Linked DNA regions of Homo sapiens: all the other regions are linked to region 4. The links are contacts of gene promoters, found by promoter capture Hi-C in human tissues and cell types (Jung and others, 2019). All regions are on one chromosome and are shown on one strand. The core of a region is centred on a gene start or on the middle of the fragment in contact, and the rest is flanking DNA. Distances in the headings are between cores, read along the strand shown.

What was found. Contacts are between HindIII fragments. The study calls those that stand out against the background at their distance.
Region 1: a fragment that was not itself captured here is called in contact with the fragment with the promoter of C8orf76 in region 4 in 1 of the 25 tissues and cell types used here (aorta).
Region 2: a fragment that was not itself captured here is called in contact with the fragment with the promoter of C8orf76 in region 4 in 2 of the 25 tissues and cell types used here (IMR-90 fibroblasts and dorsolateral prefrontal cortex).
Region 3: a contact is called between a fragment that was not itself captured here and the fragment with the promoter of C8orf76 in region 4, in 1 of the 25 tissues and cell types used here (aorta).

What each region holds. Positions count from the first base shown.
Region 1 is chr8:122,635,115-122,637,814 of GRCh38, forward strand. No RefSeq gene overlaps it. Among named protein-coding and RNA genes, the nearest start is that of LINC01151, 58 kb to the right of the region's middle. The HindIII fragment of the contact is 5,244 bases long and covers 1-2,700 here.
Region 2 is chr8:122,663,369-122,666,068 of GRCh38, forward strand. No RefSeq gene overlaps it. Among named protein-coding and RNA genes, the nearest start is that of LINC01151, 29 kb to the right of the region's middle. The HindIII fragment of the contact is 4,474 bases long and covers 1-2,700 here.
Region 3 is chr8:122,681,456-122,684,155 of GRCh38, forward strand. All of the region lies in intron 2 of LINC01151 (long intergenic non-protein coding RNA 1151), which reads right to left. Among named protein-coding and RNA genes, the nearest start is that of LINC01151, 11 kb to the right of the region's middle. The HindIII fragment of the contact is 7,881 bases long and covers 1-2,700 here.
Region 4 is chr8:123,239,978-123,242,677 of GRCh38, forward strand. C8orf76 (chromosome 8 open reading frame 76) reads right to left here and starts at 1,400. Exons shown (of 6, transcript NM_032847.3): 1 at 1,253-1,400. The coding sequence starts at 1,369. The region is part of intron 2 of ZHX1-C8orf76 (ZHX1-C8orf76 readthrough); the gene reads right to left. RefSeq lists an enhancer at 1,186-1,686 and a silencer at 1,187-1,306. The HindIII fragment of the contact is 18,562 bases long and covers 1-2,700 here.

The sequences.
Region 1 (2,700 bases), core at 109-2,608, 600 kb before region 4:
CTTGTGTCACTCGCTCCCTGGAGGGGCAACTTCTTGAATGAAATCACTGAGCGGTGGAGAGGAGGTCTTTGTAAGGCTTTTAAAGTCAAGCTCTTCCCCAGGCTGGGATTGGGAAATGCAAAATTTGCTGATTGAATTCAAGCTTCTCCGAGCAGGTGCAACAAGTGTGAATGTTCTCAGATTGTGAACAAGGCCATGACTAATTCTCACTTCATGTACCCAGCCTCCAAGCCAAGAGCCACAGGTTCACTTCTTCATGAATCCCCGTGAAAAGCAAATGCAATCCTCCCCTCTGGTAGGAGCCTGGGCATGAAGTCAAGGTGGAGAAGGCTCGTTATCTTAATGGTGTTGAGATCATAATTACAATAATAGTAACAAATAATATTTACTGAGCACATACTCTGTGCCAGGTACTGTTATAAGCACTTTGCATAAATTAAACTAACTCATCTCAGAAACCCTGAAGCCAATAATACTACTATCCCAATTTTACAAAAACAAAAAGATGTCCAGAAAGGTTATACGTAGGTGGATAAGGAGGTAGAAAACCACAGAGTTGTCAAAACCTGTAACACAAAATAAACAATATCCATACATAAAAATAGTAACATTTTTACTAGAACTGACTACAGGACCTCAGATTAATCACCACACATGGACCTACTCAGAGGCATCTACAGCGTATCAGGACAAAACGGACTTGAATGAGCAACGCTAAAAGCCATGAGAAGTTCAAGAGAATGCTTTTGTTGTGAGAGACAGTGTGCCCAGCTAGAGGGTATTAGGGAAGGTTTAGGGAACAGGTGAGGCCTGGGATCTTGAAGGATGGGCAGGATGTCATTCCAGGTTAAGGGAAAAAGAAAGAGGGAGGGAGGGAGGAACATGTCCAAGGAAGTGCAGGAATTGGATTGTGGCTGGAGTATTGACCACACACACCGGGATTTTCAGACAGCCACAGTAGACTCCAAAGGCCCTCTCAATTCATCTCTAGAATAACTCAGTTTTTATCTACTTTATCTATTGGGCTTCTGTATGCATTTCATTTGAAGAAACAATTCATTTAATTTCTATTTTTAAACCTGAACACCAGAAGGTAGAGAAAGCATAGAGGAGGAAGAGGAAACAAAGCAAGAATGCTAAGTTGGGAGAAGAGCCTGGAGAGCTGCAGTCAAGAATATCAAACCTGCACCATTCCCCACCACCTCTCTCCATTCTACGACCATAGCAAACATCACTGGTGGAGCAGGTAATCCTTCCCTACTGTGCAGACTCCGAAGCCTTCCATAAACATCAATGACTCCAGGCATCAGAAGTGAGGCATCACGGAGCTAGGCAAGGGAGTATGGGCTTTTTTCCTACGACAACAGAGAGCATGTGTTTTTGAAACATTGTCCCTAAAGGTTCATTGATTTCTAAATAATGCTACCGCGATGGGGCCATGAATCCATGTCCAGGCCTCACTTGTAGGCAATCTCATCTCAAAGAGATCTTCACAAATGACTCCCTAAGTGTCCTGATCTTCCCTCCTACAAGGTCCAGATCCCCAACAATGATTAATCAGTGAAACAAGAAGTGAGAAAGGACTTCCATAGTGTCCAGAAGGCCAACCTGGACTGACCGTTTTTCCATTACCACACAGTGAGAAGCATCCTTTGTTAGTAGTGGAAATTTGGGGATCCAGGAGTAGAGTCAAAATCTATGTTTCCCAGTCCAGAGATGGCAGGTGATGGGGTAATGAGGCTGCTACAGAGGAGGGGTAAGAAGCAGGTGATTCAAGCAGTAAGGAAGGATAAAGGGTTAGGCGGAATACAAGATTCACCTGCTCCTTTAGGTGTAAGAAGCAGGATCTATAGACATAACTGTGCTCTGCTATATATCTCTGCGTGACCTTAGACATGTCAGTTCACCTCTCTGAGCCTCAGGTTTCCCATTTGTACCTTGGAGGTAATGCTTTCACCTAACGCCCCACCTCACAGGGTATGTAGGGAACATCTGTTGCTTATTCCCCCTTCTCCTGTCAACAACAAAATTTGCTTTTTACCCAGCTTGGAAGGGCCTTCTCATCAAGGTTTCTCCATAGTCTCTGGGCCAAGGAGTGTGCCCAGGCTGGGCCCATCTGACACCCTTACCCCGGATTCCTGAACAGGGAAATGCAAAATTGAGAACAGTCAGGACCAAGGCAGGGCAAAGGTAGAGCCTGAAGAGACGACCCCTTTATTCCCGCTCCCCCGTCCCAGCCCCAGAGAGCTCTGGGTCCTGCCATTGTGTGACCCATCTGCATAGTTCAAAAAATCTCTCGATACTTAGATGAGCCAGGGTCACCAAGAATGCTGGCTGACACAAAGGTATCGAATGAGGACGTGATGTGAGGAAAGGCACTTAGACAACATAAAAGATGTATACAAATGCCAGATGGTATTCTCCAGAACATTCCACACTGTCAGCCACCCAAGGGTCTTATTAAATGATTGTTGAAGCAAGACTGTTGAGTGTGCTCTCTGTTCTTGGACACAACTTTTCAGAGATGCTTCTGGCCTTTTGTGCTCATGGACAGAGCTACTCACTATGGTCCTTTTGCATCCCCAGCAGGTCACAGGGCACTGAGTCACTAGAATGTGTCATCTTTATCACACGATGCTCAAAGCCTTCTGTCTCTTTTCCCTGTCTGATTTACTTCCTTTACTTCAGATGCTTATTCCT
Region 2 (2,700 bases), core at 183-2,682, 580 kb before region 4:
TAGCTAGGTGTGGTGGCACATGCCTCTAATCCCAGCTACTTAGGAGGCTGAGGCACAAGAATGGCTTGAACCCAGGAGGCAGAGGTTGCAGTGAGCCAAGATCATGCCACTGCACTCCAGCCTGGGCAATAGAAAGAGACTCTGTCTCAAAAAAAAAAAAAGAAAAGAAAAGGAAGAAAGAAAAGTAAAAGAAAGAAAGAAAGAAAGAAAGAAAGAAAGAAAGAAAGAAAGAAAGAAAGAAAGAAAGAATCAATATGAAGAGATGAAGCCTTTGCTTAAGTGAAGTTAGTGCACAGAAGTGAGGCAGAAGCAGAGTCAGGAAGACCTCTCAGAGGAGGCACCACTGAGGAGAATTTTTACATATAAGCCGGAGTTAGAGAGAGGTGTATGAAGGAAGGGGATTTTATTTGGAGATAGTAGATATGTAAAGACACAAAGCTGGAATGAATTATGGCAAGAGGTTTATTTGATTACAGTGGAAACTTCAAGGAAGGGAGCACTGAGAAAAGAGGCTTGGAGAAGCTGGCAGGGACTAGATAATCATAGGCCTTGAATGCCAAGCCAAAGAATTTGGATGCTAGTCTGAAAATATTTGGAGCCACAAAGGTTTATTTTGGGTAGATAGTTTCCAACAATGGTCACCAGTGATTCCTTCCCTCCCTGTACACATATGATGCTCTACCTATCAAGACGTAGGATCCCTTTCCATTCCCCTTGGACCTTGCCTAGCCTTGTGACTTGCCTTGTCCTGTACAGTATGACAGAAATGACACAGTGCCATTTCTGGAGTGAAACTTGAAGATATCAGGCAGCTTGCTATAAAGCAGCTCAGATTCCTGAATGATGTGATACCATGTTGGGAGAAATGCCATGTAAAGGAGAAGTGAGGTGTGAGACATGTGTGTGAGGTCTTCCTGAACCTTTCAGCCCAGCCAAGCTGCCAGATGGATACAGCTGGATGAGTGACTCCTAGCGTATACCAAGCAGAACAGAAGAACTGCCCAGCTGAGACCTGCCTGCATTCTTGACCCACTGAATCATAAGCAATGGTGAATCATTGTTGCTTTCTGGATGATTTGTTATATAGTAGCAATAGACAACTGAAACACATTTCATTTTATCTTCAAAATAGTACAAGGATATAGTATTCCCTCCATTTAGATATGATGAAAATGAGGCTCAGCAAATCACAGAGCAATAAAGGATTCTAAGAGGCATTCAAGATTGAACTCAACCTTTACCAACTGTAGAACCCATGCTCTTTTCACTAGACATAGGGAATAAGCCTAGTATTTAGCTAAAATTTTGGATACAGTCAGCCTCTATTCTGATTGATCTGGAGTTCCTTCCAATTACTCAAGCCCTTTTCTTTACTTGTTATTAAATATTTGGAATACTGCGATTGCCTGGGAGCACAGGATTATGAGACAAGAACCATAACCATCTTTGAAAGATGTTGGAAGTCTTTCCAGTTTATAGAAAATATCCCCCAAGTCTTGTTTTCCTGGCCTTACCAACCTGGCTTATTTTGGATACAATCAGTACCTGAGGGTGAGGCTCAGAAGTGCCATCTGGTCCTCCCATGTCTCCATGGCATATCTCATACACAGCCAGAAATGGCTGTCAGCAGGAATGCCCTACAGGCCAAACAAAAATGCACCCAGTAATAGATGCATGTTTATTTTCTTTTCCATTTCCCACCTTTCTCTCACTTTATTTCAGAGCTTTTGCTGTCTGTTTTACTACTTGGGAAAGCCCCTTGGAGTATCATTCTGAAGTAAAATTACTTCATTTAATCCAATGTATTGCTCTTGGAAAAAGGTTTTATTTCCCGTACTTGAAGCTGGGCAGTAAACAATAAGCTTCTATTTTTCCTAATCCTAATTTCCAACCTTTTCTTGTGTCTTCATAGTTAAGGGAGCTAACAAATTTGTACCATGCCCCATCATTGAAGGAGACTTTGCCTAGAGCCTGGATGGAAAAACAGATATTTCTGTTCAAATTTTACTCAACACACTCCCAGAAGAAAAGGCAGTGAACCAGTTATGCTCAGGTAGTTGCCTTCACGTTTGTAGGGAGTTGTTCTTCCAGGTTGAGTGGTTCCAAGAATGAGGTACAAATTCTTCAGTTCTACAACATTTTCAGTGACTGCATCCTGCACACGAGAACTTTCTATGCAGCTTAGCAAAACAAGGTAGGCATTGACTTTGGAATCAGAAGAACATTCGGGCTCTTCTCAACCCATTTCAATCAGACTTTTACCCCCACCATGTAACAAAGTCACCAATGGCCTGTCAAGGTCACTAGTGCCTGCATCTGACCAAGTCCAACAATGGATTTTAATCCTCATCTTACTTAATAGCAGCAACTGACACTGTTGATCCTTCTTTTCATGAAACACTTTTTTTTTACTGGGTTTCTAGGCAGTCCCACATTCTTTTTTCCCCTCTTCCCAATCTGTCTCTTCCATCTCTCCCTCTCTGGATTCCCCTCTTCCTCCTGACCTATATAGACTGACAGACCCCAGGCTCACTTTCAGCCTTCTTGTTTCCTCTCTCTGCTCTCATTCTCCATGTGATCTCATCCAGTCCATGGCTTCAAAGTCAGTCTACATGCTGAGGACTCCCACATTTTATCTTTAAATCCATTGTTTCCCTTATTAGAAATGTCCAAAATGGAATTCCTAATTTTTCCCCTTAA
Region 3 (2,700 bases), core at 181-2,680, 560 kb before region 4:
GCGCCGGGTGTGTAGCTTTCTGTGACCCATCTCCTCCGGCTGCATTTTCCCCACCTCTGGGGAGCACCTCTGTTCCAGAAGGCTCTGAGTTGGAAACACACAGGATGAATTTGGGCACATGTCCTCAGTCACAAATGCCAACAGAATTGGAATATCCAGCAAAGTGCTTTCCAGCCTCCTGGTGCCCAGAGACCTGGGAAGCCAGAGAGTGGAGAGTCCAGGGTAGGAGGTAGAAAGAGCTGTGCAGTGGAAACCCAGAAACCCAGCTCCAACCCTGACTCAGCCAACCGCTAACTCAGTGCCGTGGACAAAAGAATAATATCAACGTGCTCATGTGCATGTGTGTGCATGTGTGTGCGTGTGTGTGCATGTGTGTGCGTGTGGGCATGTGTGCATATGCATGTGTGTGTGTTTGCATGTGTGTGTGCATGTGCGTGTTTGTGTGTGTGTGCGTGTATGTGTGTGTCCCCATGTGCCGGGCCCAGAAAGGAAATATCACTGTGAGTAAAGAAAGAAGCCCTTGTCCTTCTGAGGCTTCCACTCAATTATAAGACAAGATGCACAAAAGTAGTGTAGATAAAGTGCAATGGCAAAAAGTAGATGACAACTTTACCTCCAACTACAGGGACTGGGACTGATTTCCTGGCAAGGAGGCATTTGGGAGAACAAACAAGTGCGAAGTGCCCAGGAGGAGAGGCCAAGGAGGTTTAAAGGCGTGTTCTCAGAACACCAAGTTTAGTTGACGTCTACCTCCTCTCAGCAACTTTCTACAACAGTGAGTTGACTCCTCCCTATTCTCTGAGACATAAAGCTCATTCCAAACGGTTCAAGGCTTGACTGTTCATACTTATTGTTGTTGCATTTATATTACCATCAAGAGCATTTGTGATGATCTGCTACCAGGGTGCTTAGTGCGTGTCTTGTCTCTCTAATAGCACAGTCAGGGAATAGGTCCAATGCTTTCTCTTATTCCCTGCCAGCCTGCCGTGCAATCTCTGGGTTGGAAGGAACCCTGGAAATCATGCTATCCAGTTCCCCATCTTCTCTTTCCCGGAGGCCTCTGCAAGACTGACAGGCATACCGTCTGCCTCTTTATTCTGTGTTTGTGCAAAACAGTGTGTTAAAACAGGTTCTGTTTTAGTATCAGCCGAGGCTCCAAGACACCAAGAGTGACTGCACCCCATTTCTAAGGAAAAGTGAAAGACCACAAAGACTTACACAGGAGGTAGTCAGAAACGGGTTTTAGGGCCCCAATCTATCCACCACCCGAACTTTAAAGAATTTGGAGGCCGGGCGCGGTGGCTCACACCTGTAATCCCAGCACTTTGGGAGGCCCAGGCGGGTGGATCACAAGGTCAGGAGATCGAGACCATCCTGGCTAACACAGTGAAACCCTGTCTCTACTAAAAAAAAAATTACAAAAAAATTAGCCGGGCGTGGTGGCGGGTGTCTGTCGTCCCAGCTACTCGGGAGGCTGAGGCAGGAGAATGGCGTGAACCCGGGAGGCGGAGCTTGCAGGGAGCCGAGATCGCACCACTGCACTCCAGACCCGGTGACAGAGCGACACTCCTTCTGAAAAAAAAAAAAAAAAAAAAAAGAATTTGGAGCTGGGCTGGGATTAGACAAGAATTTGGGGAGATAGCTGCCAATCCTTACACTCCCCACCCTTCTGGGGAGAGGCTGTTTCTAACCACCTCAAGCCTAGGTGAAGGGGCTTCCATGAGACCTCCTGGAAGGCTTGCAGCATGTTCCCTGGATCACGGGAGACTCCATCGATTGATGTCTGGCTCACCCTGAGAAATTTAAAGGGCGAGAGATGGCGGCAGGCCAGTTGCGCCGAAGGTGGAGTGAGACGAGGTGATCGCGTTGAGGGAGACTTGCTTTTCCCGAGTCTGTCAGGGCAAAGCATGTGTGAGTTTCCCATGGAGCAGAACTGGCCTGGGAGGTGCGGCGCCAGATGCTAGGGGGTGAGGGAGAAGCAGTGGAGGAACGGTCAGAAGAGATGCATGCTCCCAGTCAGGCAAAGGCAGATAAGAGGCGGTTGCTGCAAATTACCCATGAAGGAACCCATGAGGTGAGTCATCTGTCAACCCCAGATGGCTGGAACACCACCAGCGGAGTGAGTCTCTTCCCACCCGCTTCCCTCCTCTCTTCTCCTCTTGCCCTGGCCAATCCTGGAGAAGCCAAGGGGTGGGGGGAGTATGGAGGGAAAATGGAAGCACCAGGTGAAGCAAATAGAGGCGCACAGCCCCACAACCCCTTCTCACTGCAGGTGCCAGCCTAATGCAGCAAAGCTGGGAGAGGGAGGAAATTTTCATTTGCAATGTCGATGGGAGGATTTGGGTCCTTATCCTGGAATGGGCATATTAATTACCAATGGAGACTGGGTTTTTGTGGAAGAAGTAACTGGATCATGTTTTCTTAGATAAGGGCGACAAAAGACTTCGTAGAACTTGCCCCACTTTTATTAAGGAGCAGAATAAATATTGCAGAACAAGCTTAACAAGACAGTGGGAGACCAAAAATACGATTCGTTTCTGTTGCATCCTACAAGTCCCTGCTTGTTCAATATGATGGTGTAATATATACACAATTTCCAAAATTGGGATCATATGCTACATGGTATTCAAATCTTTTTTTTTCTCAAAGAATAATATATCATGAAGTTTTTCCCTTGGAAGAAAATATTCATCTACAAGT
Region 4 (2,700 bases), core at 150-2,649:
TCCACCTCAAAAAAAAAAAAAAGAAAAGAAAAAAATCACTTCATTTTAGAATTTATATTAAATTCTATGCACCTGTACAGCACATCAGATCTGACAAAGTATTTTCATATACATTATCTCATTTCACTCCCACGATAACTCTGTGAGCCAGCATGTATTATTTTTCTGAAGGGACAAATAAGGAGCTGACACCTTCAAGGCAAGTGGTTAAAGCCAACACTGGAATTCAAGAGTCCTATCTCATAACCAGAGTTTTTTTAATGTTCTGCCACATGATTTCCAAGCCCAATCCCTGTTTTGAGTCTACATGATCCAGGGCTGAAGGTAACTTTGAAAGATCGTATGTGATAAGGAGAAAATGCAACTGAAATAACCAAAAACACAATTCAGTAATTATCGAGTGCCTGGCATCTTGTCAGTACAATTGTGAGGAACGAATGAGACAGTATATGCGAAGGAACCCACCACAGTGCCCGGAACACTTCCGTATTTTCCATAAATATTAGTTTTGACTGATGAACTATTTACACTCATGAAAGAATAGGAAGTAATACTCTACTAATTCAAAAATATTCGCGGAGTCACTATTATTAATAAAAACTGTTAGGCACTGCCAAGGGCATCAAGAACCCATGCTGGTGCGATCATTTAGCACTCCGGGTCTCAGGACTTTGTGGGAATACTGACAAGTGCTTTAAGTAGAAGCTAAATAGAGGGAAGGGGGCCAAAGACAAAAATATTTGGCTGGAAGACGAAATCAGAAAAGACTTCCTAGAGGAGATGACATTTAAGATGTGCCTTGAAAAACGGATATAACTGAAGGACTTTAACCATCAGCGCGGGGTTGGTACGGGCAGGGGGAGCTCGCCGAAGAGGGAGGGGAGAGTGGGTTTGCCGGAGGTCACCGTTTTGGGAGGCCTGACTGCCCAGCTGTAAGAGCAGTGAAGACAAACGGGAGGTACCGGAGATTGCAGGGCAGGGGCGTTGAGACCAGCCGGCAGCAGCCAGGCCGGCCAAATGCCAAGTGGGAGTCAAGCCGCTTACAACGCGGGGATTCTCGCCCATGGACCCGGAATGGGGCCTGGGAAAGCCGCTTCCCCGTGGAGGAGGAGGGACGGCGGGGGACGCGGCGGGCGCTGGAGCCTGCCAGGGTTTGCGTTCGCGCGGACGGAGGGGCCGAGGCCGGGGCCGGGGCCCCGCGGAGGGCGAGGCCTGGGGCCCGGGATAAGGCGAAGAGGCCCCAGCTTCTCACCTGCGGCTCGCAGAGCTTGGCGCAGTAGGACGCGGGCGGTCCTGACCGCCGCTCCGGCCTCTCCTCGAACACCGAGTCCTCGAACTCGCCGCCGAACAACCAGCACCCGGAATCCATCTCGCGCCCGCGGCGGGGGCAACGAGGAAGCGGGGCCCGCCGGAAAAGGCGGGGCTTCCACGGCCCAGAGCGCGGCACGCTGGGACTTGTAGTCTTTGAGGGCGACGCGGGGACGTGGCCGCTGCTGGTTGGGAGTAGTGGTTGAGCTGAGATGATTATCTGACCCACTAACTGACCGAACCCCAGGACGGAGGTTTTGACTTCTCTGTGTCAGGAGATGGACAGAATGATCCTTACCTGCACGCATCAAAAAGCACGCTGGCCCCAGAGTAGCTGTTTAAAACTCGCAGGTACCTTTTTAAAAATTAAAATAAGAGGCCGGGCGCGGTGGCTCAAGCCTGTAATCCCAGCACTTTGGGAGGCCAAGGTGGGCGGATCACTTGAGGTCGGGAGTTCGAGACCAGCCTGACCAACATTGAGTAACCAGGTCTGTACTGAAAATACAAAAATTAGCCGGCCGTAGTGGCGCGCGCCTGTAATCCCAGCTACTCGGTAGGCTGAGGCAGGAGAATCGCTTGAACCCGGGAGGCGGAGGTTGCGGTGAGCCAAGATCGCATCATTGCACTCCAGCCTAGGCAACAAGAGTGAAACTTCGTCTCAAAATAAAAAATAAAATAAAATAAAATAAATAAAATAATTTCGAGACAGGGTCTCGCTCTGTCGCCCAGGTTGGAGTGCAGTGGTGAGATCATGGCTCACTGCAGCCTCGAACTCCCAGACTCAACCTATCATCCCGCCTCAGTCCCCCAAGTAGCTGGGGCTACAGGCGCGCGCCACCATGACCGTCTAACTTGTGTATTTTTTGTGGAGACTGGGTTTCCCTACGTTGCCCAGGCTGGTCTCGAACCTGATCTCAAGCGATCCGCCCACCTCGTTCTCCCAAAGTGCTGGGATTATAGGCGTGAGCCACTAAGCCCGGTGCAAGTACCAATTGTCAACCACTGTGCATTCCCGTCACTGTGTTAAGCACATTTTTTCTTTTCGGCTAACAACCACCTTATGAAAGCCAAAGTGATTCCCATTTTGCAAATCCTATTTTGAAGATATTGGAGTTTGGAGAGGTTAAGTAACTTGTTAAGTTTCGGTCATTATGTGGCTGAAACTTGGGAAATACAGAAATGAATGCGTACTCTCCGTGCTTCCGGACAAGAGACACTACCACCAATAACAAAGACCGGAGTCATTCACGCATTTATGAAAGAAAAGACACAGAAATATACCGTGGGAGGCTAGATCAGGGAGCATTCATTCGACCTGGAGAACACCAAATCTCAAAATTCTAAGACTAACATTTACTACAATTCTTATACTTTTAAGATATTTCTTGACTC